Linked DNA regions of Homo sapiens: region 2 is linked to region 1. Evidence: promoter capture Hi-C in 16 types of primary human blood cells and fetal thymus (Javierre and others, 2016). All regions are on one chromosome and are shown on one strand. Each heading gives the region's core, a stretch centred on a gene start or on the middle of the fragment in contact. The rest is flanking DNA. Distances are from core to core; before and after follow the strand shown.

The links. The method cuts DNA at HindIII sites, captures the fragments that hold promoters and counts their contacts. A CHiCAGO score of 5 or more calls a contact.
Region 2: a contact is called between a fragment that was not itself captured here and the fragment with the promoter of KCNS2 in region 1, in 1 of 17 cell types (M1 macrophages). The highest score is 5.3, in M1 macrophages.

What each region holds. Positions count from the first base shown.
Region 1 is chr8:98,424,969-98,428,794 of GRCh38, forward strand. KCNS2 (potassium voltage-gated channel modifier subfamily S member 2) reads left to right here and starts at 1,990. Exons shown (of 2, transcript NM_020697.4): 1 at 1,990-2,361; 2 at 2,970-3,826. The coding sequence starts at 3,012. It also overlaps a transcript of STK3 not described here. RefSeq lists a silencer at 1,890-2,089. The HindIII fragment of the contact is 15,366 bases long and covers 1-3,276 here.
Region 2 is chr8:98,185,682-98,189,507 of GRCh38, forward strand. The region is part of intron 2 of NIPAL2-AS1 (NIPAL2 antisense RNA 1); the gene reads left to right. Among named protein-coding and RNA genes, the nearest start is that of NIPAL2-AS1, 11 kb to the left of the region's middle. The HindIII fragment of the contact is 268 bases long and covers 1,724-1,991 here.

The sequences.
Region 1 (3,826 bases), core at 740-3,239:
TCCCGTAGGTGCTGCTGCTCAGGCCCCTGCAGCAGAGACACCTTGCAGCCACCATCACCCCGCCGAAGGTGTGGAAGGGGGGATTGGAAAAGGGTGAAAGAGGCACTGACACAGGGATTATAAATGCACTGAAGCACACACCCCCTCAGCAAGGGTGGCACTCTCTCCACAGCACCCCCATGGGGATGAAGGAGATCCAGGGGCTCCCAGACTGCAGCCAGGTGTGTGGGAGCCACAGACCTCCAATGATGGACCCAGCAGACCTAGATAGAGGCTGCTGTCCACACACAGACCCTGAAAGAAAGGGAGATGAAGACAAGGATAACCAAGATCAGATTTTTCTCCGTCTCTCCCTCTCAGACACACACACACACACACACACACAAACACACTGGGAAATAAAGGGTGGCTTGTGTGTGTTTGAGGGTAGGGCAGAATGGAGGACTGGATTCCTCTTTTAGGGACCTGAAGAAAAGTTTCCCAAAGCCTGGGGAAAGGTCATACACAAGAAAGAGGAAGTGTGTGTGGCCCTCACTACCCTACTATCCCTCTCCCATGTGGCTGCCTCTGTGGAATCCACCACATTTGCAGAGGCCTGCAGGGGCATGGGTGTGAAGCCCTCTCAGCAGGAAACACACCTGCATTCACACCCACACACATGTCCAGAAGCCAGTGGGTCACAGGGATGGGTCAGACTTGGATGCAGGAGCCCCCATTCGAAGCCAGATTAACGGTCCTCTACAGGTCCTCCAAGGAGGCCCCAAGCCCTCCAGAGCTACACAGAGCACCTTTTCAGCTGGGACGGCATTGCCAGGATTGCGTAAAGAAAGAATGTACTTCCCACTGTGGCAGTGGTGGTTGCACCATGAATCCAGAGCCACCCTGCAAGGGCATTCCCAGGACTTCTGACCGAGACATGTAGACGCTAGCTCCCTGCTAAGCTCACACAACCACGGTGCTCCAGTCTTTGCAAGTGGACACCACAGAGAAACACCAAAGGGAGGGGGCTCCCCAGGGACTGGGTCCATTTCTCAGCTCAGCCCAGTAGGCAGGGCCTTAAGGACAATCCCAGCAGACCAAGAGCTCAGATCTGGGCCACGAGTCTTCTTAGGAATAGGGACACAGATCCTGAGCACATCTACCAGTCCCCACTCCAGCTTGAACCCCCCAGTCCCCACTGTCGGCAAGCACACCGCTCTCAACATATTCCACACACATGAGCCCGTCACAGTCCCAAGAGTACTACACTGTACACAGCACATGTACACACAGCACACGGTTCCCCATGCCACACACTGCGCTGACACACGTCCCAGGTCCCCCCTGTGCCGACGCATCTTCCCATCCGACAGAGGACCCATTTTAATGAACGCGGTACACACAGACACTGAAAAGTCCTGCTGTCCTCAGCCTACATACACACACAGCGCCCTGCAGTCCCGCACAGCCAGCACACCACACCGGCCTGGACACAAACTGTGCCCACACAGAGCTCCCGACCAGAACTCAGCGACTCCCGCCCCCGCCGTGCGGCCTGCGCTCCCGCCCCCCGCGTACTAAGCCGATCTCCACCTTGGACTTCCCGGCCCCCTCTTTTCCCCTCCAGCTCCTGTTCCCCAACAACCCCACCCCCGGGCTTCGGGAAACTTTTCTTCAGGTCCCTAAAAGGGGACACCTGGAGTTCCTCCGGTCCCGCCCTGTCCCCGGACACGCGCAAGCCGCCCTTTATTTCCCAGCCCAGCTCCCGCCAGACCCAGCGGGGAAAGGTCACCGTAGGCAGCCCCCTGCCTGCGCCCTGGGGGTGGTGATAATAACAGCTGTCACCGGGGGATGGTCGGGGGGAAGGGAGAGGTGTCGGCCCCGCGCCGAGCCGGGGGCGCAAGGTGGTCGCGGTGACGCGCCGGGGAAGCGCAGAGAAGCAGCGGCGGCGGCGGCTGCGCCTTCCGAGCCCGGGCGGCGGCCGAGGCACGCGGAGCTGTCCGTTCAGCACCACCGCGCCGCGCCCCGCGCAGGGCGGGCGCCCCGTCACACCCGCTCTGCTCCCGCCCCGGCTCACGGGGCGAATGCGGCGCGGGTTCCTGCCTCTCTGGGTGGGTGAGGGGCGCGCGGATCCGGAGAGGGGGCTCCGGGAGCGGCGGGACCACGCAGCCACCTGTGAGCCTTCGGCAGCTGCGGGCGGCGGCGGCGTACCCGGCCCGAGACGGGAGGAGACGCTCGGCGGCCCCCGCCCGCCGGCCCGCCGGGCGCACACACTCGCACCCGCGCACGCACCGCCAGCAGGCAGCGGCCACCGCCGCGATGCTCGCCCGCGGGTTGGGGAAGTTTCCCGCCGGCCTCGGCCGCGGGCACCCGTGCTCCCAGGTAAGCGCTTCCAGAACGCGCAGGGCGAGCCCGGGCAGCCCCGCTGGGTGAGGCGCAGCGCACGCGGCCCCGGGGCATAGCGCCAGGCCGGCAGGGAGACCTGGGCCGGGGACGCGGGGGCTGCAGGCGTGGGATCTGGACCCAGGGGAGGCCGGGCCGCCCCCCTCATTCCCGCGGCCCGGGTTTCCAGACTCCAGCGCATCCCCCCCACCCCACCAAAGCTACGCGCCCCCCGTGTCGGCCCGGCCCTGCCCGTGCGTATCTCAGCTCCGGTCCCGCCTGTCTGCGGCGAGCGGGCGGGGGCGTCTCCCGGGCCTGCCCATGGACAAGGTCAGCATGCAGCCCCCTGGGCGCTCAGAGCCGCGGGGACGCGACCCCGCACGCGCAAAGCGCCCACCGAGACCCCTGGGGTGGAGCTGTGCTAATAGAAACATACCCACCCCCAGCCTTTCCTGGGAGGGGATCAGACCCCTCAAACTCTTGCCCCAGCCCAGCCCTTCAGCACCCAAGACCCACCAGGAGGCCTGGGCCCGCCAGTAATGGGTAGGGAGAGGGGGCCCCGCCAGGGCGCACGGCGCTCTCGCCGACGCTGTTCCCTCCGCTTCCAGGTGTAGCGCCCCCGCGCGGCGCGGGCGGCCGGCGCCTCCAGCATGACCGGCCAGAGCCTGTGGGACGTGTCGGAGGCTAACGTCGAGGACGGGGAGATCCGCATCAATGTGGGCGGCTTCAAGAGGAGGCTGCGCTCGCACACGCTGCTGCGCTTCCCCGAGACGCGCCTGGGCCGCTTGCTGCTCTGCCACTCGCGCGAGGCCATTCTGGAGCTCTGCGATGACTACGACGACGTCCAGCGGGAGTTCTACTTCGACCGCAACCCTGAGCTCTTCCCCTACGTGCTGCATTTCTATCACACCGGCAAGCTTCACGTCATGGCTGAGCTATGTGTCTTCTCCTTCAGCCAGGAGATCGAGTACTGGGGCATCAACGAGTTCTTCATTGACTCCTGCTGCAGCTACAGCTACCATGGCCGCAAAGTAGAGCCCGAGCAGGAGAAGTGGGACGAGCAGAGTGACCAGGAGAGCACCACGTCTTCCTTCGATGAGATCCTTGCCTTCTACAACGACGCCTCCAAGTTCGATGGGCAGCCCCTCGGCAACTTCCGCAGGCAGCTGTGGCTGGCGCTGGACAACCCCGGCTACTCAGTGCTGAGCAGGGTCTTCAGCATCCTGTCCATCCTGGTGGTGATGGGGTCCATCATCACCATGTGCCTCAATAGCCTGCCCGATTTCCAAATCCCTGACAGCCAGGGCAACCCTGGCGAGGACCCTAGGTTCGAAATCGTGGAGCACTTTGGCATTGCCTGGTTCACATTTGAGCTGGTGGCCAGGTTTGCTGTGGCCCCTGACTTCCTCAAGTTCTTCAAGAATGCCCTAAACCTTATTGACCTCATGTCCATCGTCCCCTTTTA
Region 2 (3,826 bases), core at 608-3,107, 240 kb before region 1:
GGCTTGCCAAGGCCCTCTGTGGTCCCCTTGTACCTTTATATCTCTCTGGGAAGCCTTCCAGTATCGGCTCCCACTCCTACCTCCTTGACTGTCTCCATGCCTCTCACCCCAAGTTCTGGAGAGTGAGATTTTGGATGGCCCAGCCCATTCTTCTCTGGAGACAGCTGTTTTGCTCGAGGCCATCTCAGAGGTCACTGTTCAGCTCATAGCCTCGTTATGCTTGATCATTTCTGGTAGGATGTGATGAGCCACAAATGCAAAAGTAGAGTTCAGTCATTATTTCCTGAATATCTTTTATGCCATCTTATACTGAGAGTGACTGCCTAAGGAAGATGTGGAGTAACGTCCTTAAATTTTTTTTTTCAGACGGAGTCTCACTCTGTCACCCAGGCTGGAGTGCAGTGGTACCAGCTCAGCTCACTGCAAGCTCTGCTTCCCAAGTTCACGCCACTCTCCTGCCTCAGCCTCCCGAGTAGCTGGAACTACAGGCGCCCACCACCACGCCCGGCTTATGTCTTGTATTTTTAGTAGAGACGGGGTTTCACTGTGTTAGCCAGGATGGTCTCGATCTCCTGACCTCGTGATGCACACGCCTCGGCCTCCCAAAATGCTGGGATTACAGGCGTGAGCCACCGCGCCCAGCCCTTAAATTCTGATAGGTGAGTTTTATTGTTGTTGTTTTTGAGTGTTATTTGCCAGTGTGCATGGATAGGTGAGTTTTTGGAAAGATACTGATTATGTTCGTTAAGTTCAGTCTGCATCCCTGGAAATGAAGTTAATACAATCGTTTACCTCTCAAATCAAGCCTGAACTCTTAAATCTGTGTTATAGCTGGCCACTCAGGGCCTTCTTACTTGCTTTTCTAGCCTTACCGAGTTGCCTTCCTCTTCGTGTGACCCCATGTTATAGATGTTTACCAGGCTTGAACTATTCAGTTTCTTCTTTGCTCATGGGGCTTCCCCTTATGTCCAAATTCTACATGCACTTCAAAGACCAGGTCAATCCCTGTTTTAGTTTCCTAGAGTTTCCACAATAAATCACCACTAAGGAGGTCAGAAGTCTGAAATCAAGGAGTAGTCAGGGCTGTGCTCCCTCGGAAGGCGCTAGGGGAGAGTCCTGCCCTGTCTCCTCTAGTTTCTGATGGCTCTAGGTCTGCCTTGGCTTGTGATTTCAGGACTCCAGTCTCTGCTTCTATCTTCACAGGGCCCTCTCTGTGTCTTGCCTTTTCTGTCTAAGGACACTTGTCAATGGATTTAGGTGCCACCCAGGTAATCCCGGTTGCTTTCATCTCAAGATCCTGAATTTCTTTTGCAAAGAACTTATTTCCAAATATGGTCACATTCACAGGTTGCAGGGTTTAGGACATGGACATATTGTTTCAGGGGCCACCATTTAACCCACTACAATCCTGAATCCCTTTGAAGACTGTGCCCTAGACCTTTCTCTCCTCCAAGCTCCCATGCCCTTTAAGTCTCTTAAGGCATTTTCAACATTCAGTTGCACAGTGTAGGTACTTTGGCCACTTGTGCTAAGAGTGTGGGTTACAGAGCTAGATGTCCTGGGTTCAAATCCCAGCTCCGCCACTTGCCAGCTGAATGATACTGGTCAAGTCACTTAACTCCTTTTCCCAGGACTGGGACACAGTGAGGCACCTAGGGCACAACATTTAAAGAGGCACTCACTCTCAGGGTCCTCTCACCACCCCACAAGTCAGATTTTCATAAGCTTCATTAAATTGTGTGCCTTGGGCCTCTCTTGACTTACCCTAATCCCTGCCCTGCCTCTTATCATGGTTTTCTAATCTGTAAAGTGGGGATCAGGACCTCTCTAATAGAGAATTTTAAGGATGAAATGAATAACACAAGTAAAAGATTAGCAGTAAGGGCTCAATAAATGATAGCTATGGTTTCTCTAACTAGACAGGCAACTCACAAAGAGCTGGTCTAATTCATCATCATATTCCCAATAACTTTAAATTGCAAAAACTTGGAAGCTTTTTGCAATTGCAAGATGTCCTTCCAAGATGATATCTATTTATCTACTTGTCCAACCAAGTAGACGAATAGGCGAATAAACTGTGGTACGTCCAGGCAATGGAATACTATTCAGCACTCAAAAGAAATGGGCAACTAAGTGTAAATAGCCATGGAGGAACCTTAAATCCATGTTACTAAGTGAAAGAAGCCAATTTGAAAAAGCTACATACTATATGATTTCAACATATGACATTCCTGAAAAGGCAAAACTTTGGAGACAGTAAAAAGATCAGTGGTTGCCAGGGCGTGCAGGGATGGAGGGACGACTAGGCAGAGCACAGAGGGTTTTGGAAACTGATCTGTATGATACTATCATGATGGGCACATGTCACCATACACTTGTCCAAACCCGTAGAATGTATAACAGCAAGAGCGAACCCTAACGTAAACCAGGGAGTTTGGGTGATAATGATGTGCCAATGTAGGCTCATTGATTGTAACAAATGTACCACTCTGGTGGGGGATGTTGCTAATAGGAGAGGCTGTGCCTGTGAAGGGGCAGGAAGCAGATGGCAATTCTCTGTACCTTCTGCTCAATTTTGCTGTGACCTAAAGCTACTCTACAAAATAAAGTCTATTTAAAAAATGCATGTTACATTGAAAATTGTAGGTGATTGATTATATTTGAGTGAATTAATGAACATTTGCTAAGATTGAGTCATGTGGTAATTGAGCTAGTAGTCTATAATCAGGCAAATAACCCAGGCTTTGAGTCCCTGGGGTCAAGAGTTCTTGAGTTGATTCATCTCCTTGTTCATGCACAGTGTTTAGAAGGTTTAGGTGAGGTGCTTTGGATAGAGGGAGTAGAGCCCAAGCCTCAGAACATTTCTGAGGTTGGTTTTCAAATTAGAACCATGAGGGAAAGGCTTGAAAGTGGGATGCGTGCACACTGGATGGATTTGTTCATGTTTGGATAGCAGCAGCTCAAATGTGCAAAGTGGCTTCGGTCCATGCTTGCTGGTCCCACCAGGAATGGAGGGCTCTTTCTTGGCTATGCACTTGTCAGCTCCCTGGGAAGGAGATTCTTTCCTGGAACATGGAGACTATCTGACATCTTGTCTGGAACTCCATGAAACTCTTGGCAGCACCTGGCCCAGCAGGGTGCACCCCAAAACACCACATTTATTTGATATTGGGATTGATATTTCTCTTTTACATTGTGGTTGGGACTCATTAACTCTCAATAAGGACCAACATTAAAGGAGGAGTTTCCTCCCTCTCAGGAAAAAAAAAAAAAAGCTTCCTTGGATGGGCCACAGCTCCTGTAACTGATTTGCTCTTCTGGCACAGGACATCATGTTGTGTGGTACCCTGAGGCTGGTGAGAAAGGGAACAGACTCAAAAATTCCTGGGTGGAAAGGCTCTTCCCTGCATTTACCACAATTGCTAAAATGCTAGGTTTAATAGCTCAAGGCTGGTCTATATTTGCATGGAAACTGTGTATGTGTGGAATTTTATTTTATTGTTTTACTTCAAGATGGTCATAATAAGAGCCAGACTGTTGATGAGTCTAACGATTAGAAGCAGCCTCTAAATTCCCCATACAATCACGTTGGGTTCAATTTTGAGATTTTATTCTAATAGTTCAAAATGTGTGGTGTTTATCTAGCAACCTCACTAAAGGACTCACATTCACTGGTGCCAAACATGTGCATTAGCCTTGCAGCCGCCCAGTGCAAAGACTGCCTCTATAACCAGCCACAGAGTTTAAGTAAAGCAGTCTGGAAGAGTGTTGGGAAGGTTCATGTCAGTAACTGCTATATTTATGTCCACCATATCACTGTTAAATT